Regions from separate parts of the Homo sapiens genome. Here all the other regions are linked to region 3. The links are contacts of gene promoters, found by promoter capture Hi-C in human tissues and cell types (Jung and others, 2019). All regions are on one chromosome and are shown on one strand. The core of a region is centred on a gene start or on the middle of the fragment in contact, and the rest is flanking DNA. Distances in the headings are between cores, read along the strand shown. Region 1 holds the start of RSPH1 (radial spoke head component 1). Region 2 holds the start of SLC37A1 (solute carrier family 37 member 1). Region 3 holds the start of TFF3 (trefoil factor 3). Region 4 overlaps SLC37A1 (solute carrier family 37 member 1). Region 5 has its middle 37 kb from the start of ABCG1.

Region 1 (3,779 bases), core at 642-3,141, 180 kb before region 3:
AGTTGGTATCTTACTGCCACAGCGTCCATTCTGTCAGTCTTATGATCTCTATTTTAACATTAATGCTTGTTAGTTGTTGTGTCTAAACTGCACAAGGGTATTAGTGAGGCATGTTCGACCTCCCTTCCCATCATGGCTGAGAACGCAGTTTTTAAGGTTTCTGGGGCCCTCTTGGCCAAGAGGGGTCCATTCAGTTGGCTGTGGTGGGGCTTAGGAGGTTATTTTTAGTTTATAACCCCCTATAACTCCCTTTCCTTAGATGTTCAATGGAGGAATGATAGTGAGGATTTAATAAGATAACTCATAAAATTCTTAAAACAGTGCCCACACACAGTGTCAGAACTTAGTAAACACTGGTTACTGTCATTGTTAGGACAAATTTGAAAGCTAAATTTCTGACATTTTAAATGTAAAAAACGAGTATTTATTTGCATATACTTATGTTACCATTCTAGATTTCTAACATTTAAAATGCTTCTGGCATTTTATTATAAAAATAGGACATGCTTAATTGTAGTAACTGGGTAACTGCCAATATGTAGAGAAGAAAATAATAATCATCTGTTATCCCTAACTCCCCACTTTTCCCCATAAGAAAAGCTGTTAAATTTTGGTGTTTACAACATTTTTATCTTTGCATCTAAAAAACGACATAATTTTGGAATCTCGTGTGTTGTTGTAACTTGTGTATTTATTCAGTAAGTAATATATTTGGGCCTGATGATGGGTTATGGTTGTAACCTTTCATATTAGCATTGGGAAGAATCTCTAGGGGATGTGTGCTCTGGAAGATCAGCAGCTTATTCACCGCGTGGATTTGGCTTCTGGGATTCTCCCATCAAGACCAAATCCTATAGTTATTCAGTCACTCCTCCCCAGCTCCTGCAGCAACAACAAATAACACAGCTTTGCAGTCTGGGATGATGGCAGAGGAAATGGGAGATGTGAGGGGCCTTCGGCAGGCGGAGTGCGTCAGGTAAAGCAGATTTCCAAGCCTGCACGTGTACATGCGTGTGCGTCTGTGATTGTGTGGGTGTGTGACAGTGTAGGGGAGCCAGGAGCGAGAGGAGAGGACGGCGATCGTAGGGGACACCTGAGAGTCAGAGGCCCGAGGGGGCTGGGACTCATGTCGAGGTCGGGGAAGGATGTAAAACCCGGACGGACATCACTGTAGGCCGCACCTGCTGAGAGGCCAGAGCTGCCTCCTTGAGAGTGAAGTTGTTTACAGACAAGAGAAGAGATCTTGGCGGACACATCACAGCTAGCCGCGAATCCCGAAGGGTCAGCAGAGCCTAGAAAGGTAAGTGGGGGTGGGCAGCATCCCCGGAGGGGCCTGCGAGGCCTGGGGGCGGAAGGGAGCGGGCAGTGCCCGCACTGGGCAGGGGTGAAACCCTCTCGAGAGTTGGCCCGGACGCGTTTCCCGCGTCCTTCCTCTTGAGGGCCCAGTACCCAGGTGGCTCCTCGTTGTGGCGTCACAGAACAGCCGACAAAAGTGATGGATTTCAGGGGCCAGCGACGGCGAGGTCCAGGTCAGAGAGCCGGTGGGCAGCCAGGCACAGAACCCGCTCAGGCCCTGCCCAGTCCCCGCCCCCTCGCTTCCCGAGCAGTGATTGGCCGAAGCGGCCCCTCGTTGCTATGACGGCACCAGAGTGCTGCCACTGGCTCCACCTCGTCCCTTCCGCCCCGCCCCTCCGTATTCCCGGGCGGTGATTGGTCGAGGTGCCCTTCCCGTTGCTATGACAGTACGCAAAGGCTGCCAGTGGCTCCTCCCGCTTCGTCCGCGTCGCCTGTCCCCGCTCCCCATCTTCCGGGCTGGGAGGGAGGCGGGACCGGCCGCGTCTCCATGGCGACGCGGGACGCGGCGGTGGAGGCGGTTGCTACCCACCTGCTAGAGGCGCTGCGGCTGTGATCCAGGCTGGGGCGAGACCATGTCGGACCTGGGCTCGGAGGAGTTGGAGGAGGAGGGAGAGAATGATATTGGGGTGAGAGCTCCTGGTGAGAAAGGGCTTCCCAGGGTGCGCAGCGGCGGGGGAACCTCGAGGTTGGGTTTGGAGAGTGAGGAGGCGCAGAAACCAGAGGTCTGAGCCACAGCTCCCCAGGATCCCCGGCAGGGACGAAGGCCACGCCAGACACACCTGCGTGCGTCCTGGAAGTTGATGGTGAAAAGTGAAACGCTGTGACGTCTGGTTACCACATGCCGCCTCGTTCTTCCCCCACCCCCATCCTGCCTCCCATTAAAGGCAAAGATTTCCCAGCGGAAGGCTTTGGAAGTTTCCTCCTCCCTGTGTTAATTCCCATCGAGGCAGTTTTCTCGGATGAGCAGATCATCCCACGCTGCCATACTGCCCTTGAATAAGTCATTTCTGTAGCTGAGATTTGCTCCCCCGGCATTTAGATGCATGGAGGATAGTTGCTTCCTGGCAGCCTCCAAGAAATGCTGAGGAGGCCCTGGGCTCAGGAGAGGGTTCCTGAAGATATTACCTTATAGGCGTATCCTCACATGTGCTTTCTTCAGTCCCCATCTGAACTGACCCAGGTCTTTGGAGTTATTTCCTGAGTTAGGCAGCAGAGAGGAGAAAGAGGGCACATCCAGCCTGTGAGCTGGGTTCTGTGTGGGAATATTTCTATCACCCAGAGAGTAGTTCCTCCCTACTCCAGAGAGTGACCTCTCCATGGCTGACAGATAGGGAACCTCAGCCACTATGGTCTGCATGCACAGTACAGAGTTGAGGTACTTTCAGAATTAACTGAAAAATCTAGCGACTCTGCAGTGGTGCTGTCAGTGCCTGCCCAGACCTTTTTGCTAGCTCTGGGCACTCATCTCCCAGCTTCCGCCTGATTTGCTACTCAAGCTATCACCTCTGTGCGCTGGAACTACCTGCCCAGTATGGAGAGCCAGAAGTGCCTGAAATTCACATCCGGCCAGACAGCCAGTAGCTAGTGCAAGAAGCAGGACAAAGTCTGCAGTGCGATTGATGCCCCCAGAGTCCCTGTTGGATTAGGCCAAGTCTGGGACTTCACCTGCAAAGGCATCCTTCCTTAGCTGCCTGCCCTTTCATGTCTACTTCCCTGCCCTCTTTACTACTTTCTCCCAGGAGAGCACTTAAAAAAATCAGGCCAGGCGCGGTGGCTCACACCTGTAATCCCAGCACTTTGGGAGGCCGAGGTGGGCAGATTGCCTGAGCTCAGGAGTTTGAGACCAGCCTGGGCAACACGGTGAAACCCTGTCTCTACTAAAATACAAAAAATTAGCCGGGCATGGTGGCGGGCACCTGTAATCCCAGCTACTCGGGAGGCTGAGGCAGGAGAATGGCTTGAACCCGGGAGGCAGAGGTTGCAGTGAGCCGAGATCACGCCACTGCACTCCAGCCTGGGCAACAGAGCGACTCTGTCTCAAAAAAAAAAAAAAATCACTTGTTCAGGGTCTGTTTCTAGGTGAACCCAACCTGCAACACTTGACCAGCAAGATTTCTAGTTTGTCTCCTCAAATGGCCCCACTGATTTGTAACTTTTTAGTGCCTATAATTTTTAGGTTCAGATCACATTTGGGGTCATTTTAAAGGATTTCTGTCTTATTCAGCCACCCCAGCGGCTCAGTGTTGGGTGTATTGGGAAGCCTCTTGGATAGAAGGAGGGGACTTTTGTACATTTTGATGTAAACTAACCCTGAAACAAATCTGTGAGGTCGCAGATTTTTACCTTATATTCTAGGCAGGAATTAGTGGTCCAAACAGTGCTAGAAAAGGGCAAGAATTGCACAGACGTTTATTTCTGAAGTC
Region 2 (3,640 bases), core at 416-2,915, 200 kb before region 3:
TTTTCCCTTATACCACCTTTTACAAAAAGATTCAAAATCCCTGCTGAGCTTTCGTCCCAGGAGCCGCCCCTCATCTCTTCTATCTGCTCCAGCCAGAACTACACCTTTCTCCTAGGTCCTACAGGGCCTGAATAGGTGGGATTCACCCCACTCCAATACCTCCTCCTTCCAAGGCTGACCCTGGGCTGTGTAAGCCGAGGCAAGTCACTTAACCTTTCTGCTCCCTCTCCTTCAAGGCTAAACAATGGGGATGATAGCATCCATGTTGTTATAAACATGCAATGAGATAACCTATGGGAAGCACTTGATAAGTGGCCTGGTACGTAGTAAATGCGCAACAAACACTAGCTGATATTATCCTCATTGTAAATTCAAAAGAGGAAGGCCCGGGACTGCAGGGCAAGGTCCTACTTCCATCTCCTTGTCCAGAACCTAGCACAGACCACGTGCTCAAGAAACTCACGTTGAATGAACAGCCACAAATACTTCAAAACCACGTCTGCTCAAACCTCTAGATTTAAGCAATATTTTGCTCAAAATGGGTGGGCTCCAGAATGGGTCTGGATCTACTCTGGGAAATGACTTTGTGATGACAACTTCAGAGTAAAGAATTTGGTTCAACAGTGTCTGGAAACGGATGGTCAGAAGCAAACGTCTTCCTCTCAAGTGCTGCTTCTCCATGTCCAGCGTGTCTGGAAACATTCCATTGCCATCTACTAAATAAATCAAAAACCTCCAACTCTGATAAAACCTGTGACAACAACATCAAAGGCCCAGAAGGCACTGACAAATCAAGAAGGGAAAAAAAACCTCTTTGATTTCTTTTTAAAACAATGATGGATTCTTTTCCCTGTAAAATGGGTGAAAGAAAAGTGCTATAAATTCTCATAGTGAGTGCAGTTAAGATGTGCAAAGACAGTGATTTTACATTTGGGATGTTAAGAGCTCAACTAATGAGGCCCTTCCTCCCTAGCCTGTGCAGCACCACTAAAGACCACTTCATTTTGAGTGGGTCAAGACCTCTGGAAGCACGAACCATGACTGACATGCTCTCATTTGAGCCCCGTGACCACCCTGAAGAGGCAGGGCGTTCTTTTCACAAGGGAGAAAAATGAGGCTAGGCGGCTCGCCTGGGTCAGCTGGATAAGTGGGGCAGATTCCAGTTTGTCCTGTTTCTCTGAGCCACCTCCTCCCTCCAGCCACTCTTCTTCCTGCCCATCCCCTGCAGAGAAAGGGCAGCAGAATGGGAGCAAATCACTTGGTTTAAACCCAGTTTTTGGCACACTGCCCAAGTACATAAAAAGAAGAGATACTTTTTTAAAAAGTCACTCTCTACAGGCCCCCCTGGAACTTACCATTCCAGGGAGGAAAAGCGGCAGAATGTCCAGTTTCATTGCACTGTCAAACACAGCAACTTAGGCCAGGCATGGTGGCTCATGCCTGCAATCCCAGCACTTTGGGAGGCAGAGGCAGGCAGATCACTTGAGGCCAGGAGTTCGAGACCAGCATGGCCAATATGGCAAAATCCCATCTCTACCAAAAATACACAAAAGAGCTGGGCGTGGTGGTGCACACCTGTAATTCCAGCTACTCGGGTGGCTGAGGCATGAAAATCACTTGAACCTGGGAAGCGGAGGTTGCAGTGAGCTGAGATTGCACCACTACACTCCAGCCTGGGCGACAGAGCGAGACCCTGTCTTAAAAAAATATAAAAAGATAGTAACTTAGGAAACAGCCCATTAGAGCATCTTTATTACAACCTGTAAAACCTGCACATGTACCCCTGAAACTAAAAGTTAAAAAAACAAACAGACTCTGAAAGACACATGGTTTTATACCTATTTCTTCAAAAAACCCACCCTAGGCAACTGTAAAACAGAATAAGCTGAGGAAAGAAACATTCACAAGCTCCACTCCCAGACCCACCCACATGTGATCTGCGCTGCCTAGAAGGTTCCAAGTAATCTGCAGAGACTCAAATAATGGGGATAGGAAGTGAGCAATAGCAGGAGTAAGGTTCCTCAGTCTTTTTAGGGCTGAGGTGGCATTACACATAATCAAAGCGGCCCCACAGATATTTTAAATAATCTACTTTATGACATTTTTTTTTAACTGGGTCTCACTTTACAGGCAAAGATGGGTGAGAAATGCAATTCTCCTCCAAAAGTTTTCATGCATTTTTTCTTTTCTTTTTTTTAAATTACGAGATAGAATACAACTTCCTGTCCAGAGTGTGCTCTTTCTATGGCTTTTTGCTTTTAAAGGCGCTTTCCATATTAAAGATGAATGAAAATGGTCACTATCTCTTTCCCCTTGGCTGAAGTACAAGGAACCTGAATTCCATTTGCACCACCTCCCTTACCTGCCTCCAACCCCCAACAAAGAGAACATCACAGGTGGGCTGCATGAAACAGAACGTGTAAATGCAGGTCCAAAATGACTTGGTGAATCACAGGTCTGGGGCCAGGTGTTTTCAAGCTTGCTCTCAAAGGGGATTAATAAAAAAACAACGGGGGAAGTCTAAAATATTTATCCACTTACACAACTTCAGACGATTTAAGTTCAAGGGCCGGCAGGCAGGCAGGCAGGCACCTTCCAGGCAAAGAGCTAAGGGAGACCCGGAAAGGGCAGGCTTTAGCAATTCCTCCTTTGGAAATTCAAACCTGGGGCCGCGGGCTGGGGTGTTAGCGGGGAGTGGGGGTGGTAAGGGGCTTGGCCAGTATCCTTCGTTCAAATGCAAATCCTTAGACTGAACGTACCTTCTCGGTCACCAGGATTACGGCGTGGGCCGTAAGGGCTGGAAGGCTGGTGGCCAGCGGCGAGGGGACTTTCCGGCGCGTCAAGCCCTTTATTATAAACCCAGAAGGTCGCTGTCACTCGCATTGGCCAGGAGGCCCACGGGCTCCGGGAACCAGCTGCTCAGCCGACAAACAACGCAAAGGCCCAGGGTGCCGGCGCTCCGAGCCAGCGTTCTGTGCCGGCTCCTCCCTGGGCGGCTGGTCCCCGGAGGAGGTGAATTCCGCGGGCACGCCCACGTCCCCATCGCGGCAGACAATGCGCAGGGTCCCCTCCTGCCGGCTCTCTGGACCCTCAGCTGTCACCGCGGCCCGGGCCGGGGTGGGCAGGGGACCCGGCTGGACAGCTAAGCTCGCCCCTGCCGGGGACTCCGTGGAGCGGCTGCCGGCCCCGTGCCCGCTCCCTCTGCCTCCACTTCCCCGGAATCCCAGCGTTGCCCCGGTCCGGGAACGCCCGGCATTGTCGCCGAGGGCCACTCTTCTAGATGTCGTATTTCAAAGACTTCCCTCCGCGAAAATAGCTTGAGACCGTCCCCGGCTCTCGGAAAACATCCAAACCAGCCCCCACCTCCCCCCGAAAAAAAAGAAAAGGAAGGAGAGGAGCCGAGCTCCGAGTGCGCAGGGCCCCGCGCCCGGCTCCCTGAGGGCGCCGCAGGTGCTGAGCGGCTGCGGCGCCTGAGCGCCGGCTGCCCCGCAGGTGCGGGCGGGGGGGCGGGGGGTCCCCGCCTCCCGGTCCGGCCCCGGCCCCGCGCCTCACCTGCGCCGCCGAGGCCCGCGCTCCGCAGCCCAGCCCGGCCCGGCCGCCGCGGGCGCTTCCTGCTCGCGACTTCCTGGAGCGGCGCGCG
Region 3 (3,881 bases), core at 1,307-3,806:
GTTGATCCAGCACACCCGGCAGGTGGTCAGTGTGTGTCCCAGGCACCTGGCTGGGCTGTGCAGCACCACTTCATGCTGTCCTGTGGGGTGAGCACCCTGTGACATGTAGGGAAACTGAGGTACAGATGGGACGTGACTTGCCCAAGGTCAGGCAGCACAGAACCTAGTCTTGGCTTCACCATCTTAACTCTGACATGATCCCGTCTCCCTTTGCGGGGGGACTCTTCAAGGACAAGAATGTGTCACCTTTGTTATTCCTTCCCCAGCCCTAAACCCTGGGTGTAGGCAGTAGGAGCTCAGTCAACATTCACTAGTTAAACGGAAGCAAACCCCAGCAGGGTTCTCGGTGCTGGCCGCAGAGAAGAATCACAGGCGACAGAACCACCTGTCAGGGCGGGGCCCAGGCATTGATATTCTCCCCACTCCAGGCAATTTTGAGTGCAGCAGGTGGAGACCACAGCACCTGCAGAAGCTCCTTGCGGGGGTCCTTCCCCAGCAGGTCATGAGGGCCGGAGGGGCAGCAGTCTGTTCCTGGGGTGTTTGCACCCTCCTGGAACTCAGCCCTGCACCACGACCTGGCCTGGCCTCTGGGTACTAGGAGCAGTGGGAAGGCAGGGAGATCTCACCAGATCCCCCAGGGAGATCTCACCAGATCCCCCAGGGATTTCCCCTACAATGACCTTTTTAATAACATGAAAATCCTGCTGTCCATTGATGAACCTGGGTCCGCTGTCTCCCAGAAAAAGTGAGTGCCCCGAAAACAAGGCAGGCAACGCTCTTTCCTTCTTCCTCCTTCGCTGGCCTCAGCGGGAGTGGCACATCAGAGGCCAGGGGCCCTCAAATCCATCCACAAAGGGCGTGCTGAGCGCAAGGGCGGGGCCTGGGAGTCACAGGGCAGGACACATCCTGGTGCTCAGCACGTACGCCATCGAGCTCCCATGGGTCACTCGGGGAAGGGCAGTTTGTGGATGCACCCTTGGAGGCTCAAGGCCGCCCTGCACACACCACCGGGGACCCCAGCTGCAGGCTAAATCCAAGCAGCCAGGCGCTCCCATTTCTCGGGGTGATAAACCAAGTCCACCCTTCAGACAGAGGCTCCTGGAAGGGCCAGTGGGGGTCATCAAAATGCCTCCCTGGAAAAGAAACACGGAGAACACAAAATCTAGGGGCCCGTTTTCCTGGAATGAGATTAGTCTCTTGCCCACTACCAGCCAGTCCACTGCAGGAGGTTGGGGGGTTGGGGGATGCTGCGGATGCCGAGGGCGGAGGCTTAGGGTCCTGGGAGTGGGTTAAATACCAGCTATACCAGGGACACTGGAGTAACCTCTGATAGGCACCGGAAATGTTGAGTCTTAGTTTCTTCCTCTGGAAAATGGATAGAATCATCGCTGTCTCATCTGATATGTTGTTATAAAACAATTCCTGAGATGTAGTCTTTAGTTTTTAAAAGAGCACGCTGGGCAAAGGTGGAGAGTCAGTTCCTGTTTGTGTTAAAAATGTGGCCGAGTGCAGTGGCTCATGCCTGTAATCCTGACACTTTGGGAGGCCAAGGAAGGCAGATCACTTGAGTCCAGGAGTCTGAGACCAGCCTGGCCAACATGGCGACACCTGGTCTCTAAAAAAATACAAAATATTAGCTGGACACATGCCTGTGGCCCAGCTACTTAGGAGGCTGAGGTGGGAGGATCACTTGAGCCCCGCGAGGGCGGGGGTCTCAGTGAGTTGAGATTGTGCCACTGCACTCCAGCCTGGGTAACAGAGCAAGACCCTGTCTCCAAAAAAAAAAAACAAAAAAAAAACAAAAAAAAAACAAAACAAACAAACAAACAAAAACAAACCAAAAAAACGTGCTTAGATCCAGAGAGAAAAATTCTGAAAGGATACCTAAAAAAGTGTTCACAATAGATCAATAGATGCCTCTGGATAGGAAAGGCTCTTTTGTATTATTTGATTTTAAAAATCAATTATGTGTACCATGTTTTTACTAACATATTTTCAATCAATTCATTTCATCCACTTATTAAAATGTAGTTACTAATTTTTAGGGGAGAAAGCAAAAAGGAAAGACAAGGAATCTCTGTGTTTCAGGAGTTGTGAGAGAGCCGCAGGGTCCTGACTCACTCAGAGCTGCCTGTCTCCGAGGCCGATCTGGGATGAAGCAGCCTGGGGCTCTCTTGTCATGGGACCAGGGGTGTTCTGAGGGCTTCTGGCTGGGAGGCTGAGATGGAACGGACACCACACCCTGGTCCTGCCACCCCACATGGCTCCTGCACACTACACCAGGCCAGGCTAGGAGGGCAATTGACACACATCCGCTCCCCAGTAGAGGACCCGGAACCAGAACTGGAATCCGCCCTTACCGCTTGCTGCCAAAACAGTGGGGGCTGAACTGACCTCTCCCCTTTGGGAGAGAAAAACTGTCTGGGAGCTTGACAAAGGCATGCAGGAGAGAACAGGAGCAGCCACAGCCAGGAGGGAGAGCCTTCCCCAAGCAAACAATCCAGAGCAGCTGTGCAAACAACGGTGCATAAATGAGGCCTCCTGGACCATGAAGCGAGTCCTGAGCTGCGTCCCGGAGCCCACGGTGGTCATGGCTGCCAGAGCGCTCTGCATGCTGGGGCTGGTCCTGGCCTTGCTGTCCTCCAGCTCTGCTGAGGAGTACGTGGGCCTGTGTGAGTACTGCCCTGACTGCCCCGGTGGCAGGGTGGGCGTGAAGGGAAGGGATCCAGGATAAGGGGGGATTCTGCATTCATTTAATAATGGCCACCTGTCACATATACACTTTTTCCTGCGCTAGCCCTTTGAAGTGGGTCTTTATTGTCCCCATTTCACAGACAAGGAAACCGAGGCTCAGAGAAAGTTAACAACTTATCCAAGGCAGCCCTGCCCAGTCTGTGTTGAAATCAGGGTTTGAGCCTGAGCCCATCCCCTATGACCCCATAGCCATCTTTGCTGGAGATTTCTAAATTACAATATAGGTCTTTATGCATTGTTCCACATTTACAAAGAAAAAGGAAAGATGCAGGAGAAAAACCCTGACTTCAGAACACTGTCAATACCGGCAGGCACAAGGTTCATTTAGCCATTGCATAGCAACCCTGCCATGGGGTGTGGCTGCTCCATTAACCCAAGTTTGAAGGAATGAGGGCATGGCTTTTATCTGGGTGTCTTCTGAGCAGGGTCAAAGGCAGTGGTTCCCGAACTTGCAGCCCATTAGAATCACCTGGAGAGCTTTAAAAATCCTAATGCTTGGGGCACACCAGTTACATCAGGGCATCTCCAGGCAAGATCCAGGCCTCAGCTGTTTTGTTTTGAGATAGCCTTGCTTTGTCACTCACTGCTGGAGTGCAGTGGCACAATCTCAGCTCACTGCAACCTCCGCCTCCTGGGTTCAAGCAATTCTTGTGCCTCGGCTTCAAGTAGCTGGGATTACAGGCATGCACCACCATGCCCAGCTAATTTTTTGGATTTTTAGTAGAGATGGAGTTTCGCTATGTTGGCCAAGCTGGTCTCAAACTCCTGGCCTCAAGTGATCCTCCTGCCTTGGCCTCCCAAAGTGCTGGAATTACAGGTGTAAGCCACCATGCCCAGCCAACGTCAGTCATTTTTAAAGCTCTGCAGCTGATTCCAGTGTGAGCGAAGTTTGGATGCCAGGAGGATAAGCAATTACGGACTGGGAGCAAGAGAAGGGAATGTAAGACACTGCACGTGATTGCCATTTTCCTAAGGAAATACTCAGTTCGTTAATGAAACGCAGTGAACTTCTGCTGCACATACAGACATAGAGGCTTGCCTGAAACATGAAAATATTGGGGACTGAAGGATGTCCCGGGAGGGTGGGACATGCTCAACAATTCAGGAAGGGGAGATGCAGAAAAAAG
Region 4 (3,969 bases), core at 1,111-3,610, 240 kb before region 3:
ACAGTGCCCCTCCCGCTCATCTGCTCCAAGTCACCTTGTTCCCGATACTGATCACCCGCTGATCACGCCCTTCTAGTCTGGAGGCAAGGCCAGCAGCACCACCGAGGACCAGCCCGGTCCAGCTTCTGAGGGCTTCTCCCGCCTGTGCTACTCGTTCTTCCCTTGGTCCCTGCATCCTCCCCCTCACTCTTGGCATCCTCTGCTCACACACACGGGCAATCAGACCACGGGCTGTGGCACTGAAGGCACTTTTTGGGTTTTTTTTTTTTTTTGAGACAGAGTCTTGCTCTGTCACCCAGGCTGGAGTGCAGTGGCACAATCTTGGCTCACTGCAACTTCTGCCTCCCGGGTTCAAGCGATTCTCCCGCCTCAGCCTCCTGAGTAGCTAGGACTACAGGCGCCTGCCACCACGCCCAGCTAATTTTTGTATTTTTAGTAAAGACCGGTTTTTGCCATGTTGGCCAGGCTGGTTTTGAACTCCTGACCTCAGGTGATCTGCCTGCCTCGGCCTCCCAAAGTGCTGGGATTATAGGCGTGAGCCACTGCGCCCAGCCTAAAGGCACTTTAAAGGGAAAGAGAATCCAGCCGGGCTCGCGAAGGCCACGGCGCAGCACTCAGTGCCAGCGCCTCCCATGGGCTCACGCTCAAGGCCTGTGGGAGGGCAAGTGCACTGGGGAGGGGCCGGGCCACAGGGGCCAGGTGGCACAGTAGTCAGGGCCTCAGTTCCCCAACCTGTCACATGGGGGCAGGCCCAGGGTGCCAGGCTTTCCGTTTTTCCAGTGAAGGCAGGGAGCCCCATTTTTCTATGAACCTGAATTTCTAAATGGAGAAAACGAATTTCAAAAAAAATTTAAACATGGTATGAGGCGAACAAATATCACTGCAGCCATATTCAGTCCTGAAGCTAGCACTGTGCAGCGTCTAGCTTTGGCTATGGATTCGAATCCCCGGGTTCTACAACCACAGATGTCTTTTTAAGCTTAATCATCAACCGACCAGACTTCCCACAGCCAGCACAGCAGCCCTTTCTGAAACTCCTCCTGGGCACGTTTACTTACTGGAATTTTCAAGGCCCCTGTGAAGCTGATGGCGGCCGTGCCACTCCCACCGTCCCCGGGGAGAATGACGACGTGGTTCGGGTGGATGGAGCCCTTCCCATCTGAGAGCAGCAGGCACTGCATCTCTGGGTCCTGGAGGCAAATCCATTGGGAACAAAAAGGAAAGGTGTTACCAGCCGGGCAGTCTGGGTGAAGTGGGGCCAGGCTTCCTAATGACGAGGGTGCCTGGCGGCTCTCTCTTCCACTGCCTTGGAGACATCCTGGGTGACATTCCCACCTGGCCACTGTGTTAGAATGATTAGCATTCATGCATTTTCATGAACGGCTAGGTACACAGATCCTCTGATCCAGAAATTCTAGGAATCTATTGGCAAAAAATAATTTGAAAAGTAAAAAGATACTTATAAAGTAAAATGGATGTCACATCATCATTGAGAAAAAATAGAAAATTCAAATACATCCATACGAATGACATCTTGTAAAAAAAAGGTTGGGAGATTTTAATGACGGAAAATGCTTATGACACATTAAATAACACATCATTCAAAACTGCATGTCATTATAACCTCAAAGAATGTTTAAATATCTACGTATGTAACTAGGCAACTATAGGATCTATTTCTAGAAAGAAAGAAGCTAAAATCTAAGCCAACAATGGTTGTCAGCGAGTGGTGGAATTATGTGTAATTTTTATCGAAATGCTAATAAGAAATTCTTTACATGATCCTGCATTTTTTAGGAGTTCACAATGGCCATATATGACCAGAAATAACATTATTTTAAAATACACCAACATTATTTTAAAATACACCTATTCTGATATTTATGAATTCTGATTGTCTAGACGTTCCTAAAGGACAAAGTGTACATTCATTAAAGCAAAGAAGAGTGATTCCCCAACCTAGAGTGGGATTTCAAGTCAGAGCAAGGATAACATAAAAATAATCTTAGCCTGGGCCACACAGTAAGACCTAAAAAAAAATAGTGGAATGTGGTGGTATGCGCTTGTAGTCCTAGCTGCTCTGGAGGCTGAGGCAGGAGGATCACCTGAGCCCAGGAGGTGGAGGCTGCAGTGAGCTGTGATTGTGCGGCTGTCCTTCAGCCCGGGCAAGACCCTGTCTCAAAAAAGAATGAAAATAAAATAAAAATATTCTTCATGAGTGAGCTATGAGGTTCAAGGTCTTACAAAGAAATGCTTCTAGGTATCTCAGACCTTTCACAAAATCAAACAGGCTTTGTGGTACTTATCTCACTATAACCTGTTATAAGTTGGACTAAAAATGTAGTTTAATTAAAAAAAAAAAAGAAAATGGTAATGTATTCCACATTCCCCTGCCCCTTGATATTTAGAATATTTAGAATTCTCTTCCAGTGGAAAACAGACATTTGGAAACCGGGTGGCAGGTGGCACCGAGTGCAGCCCAGTGTGGGCACCCAGTGGGTGGCCTTGGGGGCAGCCCAGCGTCTACGTGCCCCAGGAAGCCCGGCTTCACAGCTAGGACTCTGGCATGGAGAGCGGGTCTCTGATGAAGATATTCACATGTGGCCACATAGTCAGGTGCTCTGGAATGAAGATGACAAGGCTGAGTGCAGATGCCTAACATGCTCCCGATGATAATCCCATCACGGCACGTGAAAGCAAAGAATGGCGACTTGAGTTTCTGAATAAACTTTTCTCTCATGAATTCTGCTAATCGTCCAGTTTAGAAAACTACATCAGTAATGCTCTACTGTGGCTAAGCACTGGAATCTCCTCGGGGGGCTTTGAGAAGCCTCGAATTCCCCCAGCCCCACGGAAGCAGTCCCTGGGGCAGCCCCAGGCGAGTTCCACTCATAGCAAGCTGAGGGCTACAGGACTTCACAGGCCGTTCCGCAGGAAACAGGCTCAGCAGTGGGTGAAATGCAGCCAGCTGGAGAAAAGTCAAGCGGAACGAGGCCGCTTAGCCAGGAGAAGCGCACCCTCTGACCCGCAGAGAAGTGACCGCAGGTCAACACAGAAGACCTACTTGGCCTCAGGTAGGACCCAGATGCCCAAAGGCCGCCCACGGCCCTTGCAGGATTTGTAAAGTGCTTCAGGGTCCACTTGCTGGGCTGGTTTAAAGCCACAGACACAGACCCTCTGCTCCTTATCTAAGCAGCAAGGAGCCCCCGAGACAGACAGAAGGCTCTGTTTCTGCTGAGAACGGGCCCTGTGCTCACAGCCACTCATCTTAAACAGGACTTGTAGCCACCATACCTGAGTTGTTTGCTCCTGGAGGAGATGGGAAAGAGTGTGGGGCCATGGCTGGTTTTCCAAAACAAACAGGGGGCTGCTGCTGCCTCCTCCTTACATAGCAAACAAGAAGCCACTGGGTGGACCAAGACAAGGCTGGAGGCCAAGAGGCACCTCTGCCTCTAAACAAGCAGTTTCCAGTCTGTGTCCCAAGAGCCCCAAATGGGATCTGTGGAGCCCCCGGTGGGTGTGGGGGCTTCTGTGGCCAGTGCACTCCACGCTTAGGGCTTACACTTTCAAAGAGAAAAGGGTTCCCTCTACTAAAATGCCCCCACACACAACAAAAATACACACAGACGCATGTGGGGGGACTGCGTAATAACGATCGCTTTATCTAAAAATGCTAAGCTCACCCCGCTACCCGATGCTGTCTGCAGCTTCCCTTTGGGAAAGGCCATCACAAGAGAGATTTGTGGAGTCCCCACTTGGCGTGCAAAGTGCACGGTGGAGTCACATTCAACCTCCAAATACCCACTCCGTGCTCACGCCGCGTTTGGTGGGCCCAACAGTTCTTGAGCCACAGCCAATCAGAAGGATCCTCAGAGACGTCAAGGAGGAAAAGTGACAAGTGACTACAGGGATGGCAAGTGCGACCGTCCCCAAGACAATCCTCTAAAACGCCCGCGGGGACCTGCGGGC
Region 5 (4,259 bases), core at 157-2,656, 130 kb after region 3:
GTGTGCACACACGCCACACACATCACACATACAAACGACACACACCACACCACACACCTCACACACATCACACAAACCACACACCACACACACAAACCACATACACCACACACCTCACACACATACCGTGCCACACCACATCATATACCACACACAACACATACAACACAAAACACCTACCTCACACACACACACCATAAACACACACCACACCACACACCTCACACACACACCACCACACATGCCACACAACACACACACTACACACACCACACCACACATCTCAGACACACACCACATCACACTACACCACACACCTCACACACACAACCACACACCTCATACACATACCACACACATATCACATATACATATACCACATACCACACACACACACACAACACCATACATCACACACACCATACCACACACACACACATGCACACAGTGTACCACACACCATACATCACACACACCACACACCACATCCACACACCGGACCACACACCATACAGACACTACATACACACTACATGCACACCACACATCACACACCACACATCTCCCATACATACACCACACCACACACCAGACATATACCACACAAACACACCACACACACACCCCACCACATACACACACTACACACACCGCACAGACACACTTACACCACACACACACATATATTTTTCCCTCTTCTAATAAACCATTGGCTTTGAATAGCTTATCTACTAAGCAGTCTCAGAATAGTTTGTATGTTTTTACACTTGTCTGCCTAATTTGTTTAATGTCATGAAGTCCCCTGCCAGAGTGATGTGTGCCCTGAGAGTCGGGCCGGCAGGCCTGGATTCCAGCCCTCATCCCTCAGCTGACCAGTCCCTGATGCTGTGCAGTCACACCACCTCTCCAGACCTCTTCACGAATAGGCAGGGTGGTGTGGGGACATGGTGCTGCCTCAAACATAAAACCTAGAAGAACAAATCCATACCCAAAGCCAGGTTTGGGATGCCCATGGCTGAGGATGGCTGGCTGGGCTCTGGGGCTGGAGGCAGGTGCTGGAGGGTCAGGAGTGAGGTGGGGATGGAGACAGCTCCCTGCTTAAAGCAGGGCAGGGGTCAGGCCAGCCCTGCTGGTGAAAGTGACTGAGAAAAAGCTGCTGCTGCCGCTGGCTGGGCTGGGCTGGGCTAGGGCTCCTTGGCCAAGGACACTGTGGGCAAGGGAGGGGATGGGTTTCACAGATGGCAGTGCTGAGACTCTGCTAGACAAGCCCCAGCCCCTAGGGAGAAGGAGGCTGGCCCAGGTGAGCCTTGGGATGGGAGGGAGCTGGCAGAGAGGGGGCCCAGAGCTGCTCCTTGGTTGGGGGACAAAAAAACAGAAACTCAAGTTCTCATGCAACATGAGCTTGCAAACCACAATTCTAAAACACATGGAGACGTCTAACAATCCACTGGCTTTGAATACCTTACTAAGCCTTCATAATAGTTTGTTTAAGTTTTTACAGTTGTCTGCCTAATTTGTGAGGCTTTCAAAGCTCCCCCCACTTTTTTTTGAGATGGAGTCTCATTCTATCACCCAGCTTGGAGTGCAGTGGAGTGATCTCAGCTCACTGCAACCTCCACTTCCTGGGTTCAAGCAATTCTCCTGCCTCAGCCTCCTGAGTAGCTGGGACTACATGTGCGTGTCACCACGCCCAGCTAATTTTTTGTATTTTTAGTAGAGACAGGATTTCACCATGTTGGCCAGGCTGGTCTCGAACTCCTGGCCTCAAGTGATCTGCCCACCTCAGCCTCCCAAAGTGCTGGGATTACAGGCGTGAGCCACTGCACCTGGCCTTTCAAAGCCTTTTTTAATGCCATGGAGTCACATAACTGAGTGAAGAGCTATCTGAAAACCAGGGCCAGCAGACCTGGATTCCAGCCCAAATGACCGATCCCCAAAACTAGCATTGGAAACATTAGAAGCATGCATTCACATCAAATAGAATTAATTTTATAGGACATTCTGGCGGAAATACTGAAGAAATTATTCAAATGTAAAAGAAGCAGAAGAAATTATTAAACAAAGAAAAAAGATATAAAAAGAGAATCACATTAAAAATTTTGAAAATGAAGGGTAGAATAATTGAAGTTTAAAACAAACCTTATACCTGGCAAAAAAAAGTAAAAAGAAGGAATTAATATAGGTAAAAGTAGAAGTCCCTGAGTTAGAAATCAGACATAGGTAGAATGGATGAATGGTCTGGTTCTTTGAAAAACATCTCCAAGAGAGAAAATTCAAAAGCCAACTTAGTTCTTTAAAAACAGGTTTAAAATACAAAAGTTGGTTTTCTGCTGATTCTTGAAGCTGCATCATTGTAGTTTGTTACACGAAGCTCTCTATTTTATGTTTAGACATTTCCATATAAAAAACTAAAAAGAGAGAAGAGAAATAGCAAGAAAACATTAACCAAAGAATACATGTAAATATCAGAAAAATAAATGTAAGGCAAAACCATGAGCAATAAATAGAGTGTCAGTACTCAATGACAAAGCTTCAGTTCACCAGGACAGTAAAACAAACATGTCTGTAGACAGGAGAGGGCCTTTCCCCAGCTCTCATCCTCACTGTCTCATGGCTTTTCCTAGGAATGTCAATTCCCAAGTACTTCTGGCCTGCCCTGCCTTCCGTATTTCCAGAAATGCCTTCTAACACAGAGATGCAGTCACTGCTAGTTGCGAGTTATACAGAACATCCCAAAATGACAGAGCCCCAGAGACATAGGTGACACCAGCCGCATCTGTGACATGAGAGAACACAGGCATGTTTCAGGCACAAGCAGAACATTTACAAAAATTTACCTAATTCCAGGACACAGAGCAAAACCCAAAAAATGTTAAAAATTTGGTTTCATGAACATTTTATTATTTATCCACAATTAATAATTAAACACAAAAGATAACTGGGGAGAGGGAGCACATGTTTAGGAATTAATAAATACACTAACTCACTCATGGGTCAAAAAAGAAACTATGTTGAAGTTAGAAAATAATACAAAAATTAACTCAAGATGGATTAAAGACTTAAATGTAAAACCTAAAACCATAAAAACCCTAGAAGAAAACCTAGGCATTACTATTCAGGACATAGGCATGGGCAAGGACTTCATGTCTAAAACACCAAAAGCAATGGCAACAAAAGCCAAAATTGACAAATGGGACCTAATTAAACTAAAGAGTTTCTGCACAGCAAAAGAAACTACCATCAGAGTGAACAGGCAACCTACAGAATGGGAGAAAATTTTTGCAATCTATCCATCTGACAAAGGTCTAATATCCAGAATCTACAAGGAACTTAAACAAATTTACAAGGAAAAAAAACCCCATCAAAAAGTGGGCAAAGGATATGAACAGACACTTCTCAAAAGAAGACATTTGTGCAGCCAACAAACATATGAAAAAAAGCTCATCATCACTGGTCATTGGAGAAATGCAAATCAAAACCACAATGAGATACCATCTCACGCCAGTCAGAATGTCAATTATTAAAAAGTCAGGAAACGATAGATGCTGGTGAGGCTGTGGAGAAATAGGAATGCTTTTATACTGTTGGTGGGAGTGTAAATTAGTTCGACCACTGTGGAAGACAGTGCGGCTATTCCTCAAGGATCTAGAACCAGAAATACCATTTGACCCAGCAATCCCATTACTGGGTATATACCCAAAGGATTATAAATCATTTTACTATGAAGACACATGCACACATATGTTTACTGCAGCACTATTTACAATAGCAAAGACTTGGAACCAACCCAAATGCCCATCAATGATAGACTGGATAAAGAAAATGTGGCACATATACACCATGGAATACTATGCAGCCATAAAAAAGAATGAGTTCATGTCCTTTGCAGGGACATAGATGAAGCTGGAAACCATCATTCTCAGCAAACTAACACAGGAACAGAAAACCAAACACTGCATGTTCTCACTCATAAGTGGGAGTTGAACAATGAGAACACATGGATACAGGGAGGGGAACATCACACACCGAGGCCTGTCGGGGCGTGGGGGGCAAGGGGAGGGAGAACATTAGGACAAATATCTAATGCATGCGGGGCTTAAAACCTAAATGACTGGTTGATAGATGCAGCAAACCACCATGTCACGTGTATACCTATGTAACAAACCTGCATGTTCTGCACATGTATCCCAGAACTTAAAGTAAAATTTTTAAAAAAGAAAATTAGAAAATAATAGTTTAGCCCTAATAAACTATCTTAA

The links. Contacts are between HindIII fragments. The study calls those that stand out against the background at their distance.
Region 1: a contact is called between the fragment with the promoter of RSPH1 here and the fragment with the promoter of TFF3 in region 3, in 4 of the 25 tissues and cell types used here (dorsolateral prefrontal cortex, lymphoblastoid cells, spleen and 1 more).
Region 2: a contact is called between a fragment that was not itself captured here and the fragment with the promoter of TFF3 in region 3, in 1 of the 25 tissues and cell types used here (lymphoblastoid cells).
Region 4: a contact is called between a fragment that was not itself captured here and the fragment with the promoter of TFF3 in region 3, in 1 of the 25 tissues and cell types used here (lymphoblastoid cells).
Region 5: a contact is called between a fragment that was not itself captured here and the fragment with the promoter of TFF3 in region 3, in 2 of the 25 tissues and cell types used here (heart right ventricle and small bowel).

The regions. Positions count from the first base shown.
Region 1 is chr21:42,494,336-42,498,114 of GRCh38, reverse strand. It overlaps RSPH1 (radial spoke head component 1), which reads left to right and starts at 1,891. Exons shown (of 9, transcript NM_080860.4): 1 at 1,891-1,982. The coding sequence starts at 1,929. RSPH1-DT (RSPH1 divergent transcript) reads right to left here and starts at 1,576. Exons shown (of 3, transcript NR_135518.1): 1 at 1,450-1,576; 2 at 1,182-1,292; 3 at 672-882. RefSeq lists silencers at 1,545-1,784, 1,815-1,934. The HindIII fragment of the contact is 9,831 bases long and covers 1-3,779 here.
Region 2 is chr21:42,513,837-42,517,476 of GRCh38, reverse strand. It overlaps SLC37A1 (solute carrier family 37 member 1), which reads right to left and starts at 3,625. Exons shown (of 20, transcript NM_001320537.2): 1 at 2,760-3,625. RefSeq lists an enhancer at 2,705-2,934 and silencers at 3,095-3,194, 3,205-3,284, 3,505-3,640. The HindIII fragment of the contact is 7,381 bases long and covers 1-3,640 here.
Region 3 is chr21:42,314,084-42,317,964 of GRCh38, reverse strand. It overlaps TFF3 (trefoil factor 3), which reads left to right and starts at 2,556. Exons shown (of 3, transcript NM_003226.4): 1 at 2,556-2,672. The coding sequence starts at 2,591. RefSeq lists enhancers at 218-836, 837-1,456. The HindIII fragment of the contact is 18,141 bases long and covers 1-3,881 here.
Region 4 is chr21:42,556,179-42,560,147 of GRCh38, reverse strand. It overlaps SLC37A1 (solute carrier family 37 member 1), which reads right to left. Exons shown (of 20, transcript NM_001320537.2): 11 at 1,059-1,190. Among named protein-coding and RNA genes, the nearest start is that of SLC37A1, 44 kb to the right of the region's middle. The HindIII fragment of the contact is 7,302 bases long and covers 1-3,969 here.
Region 5 is chr21:42,179,807-42,184,065 of GRCh38, reverse strand. No RefSeq gene overlaps it. Among named protein-coding and RNA genes, the nearest start is that of ABCG1, 37 kb to the left of the region's middle. The HindIII fragment of the contact is 4,033 bases long and covers 1-3,422 here.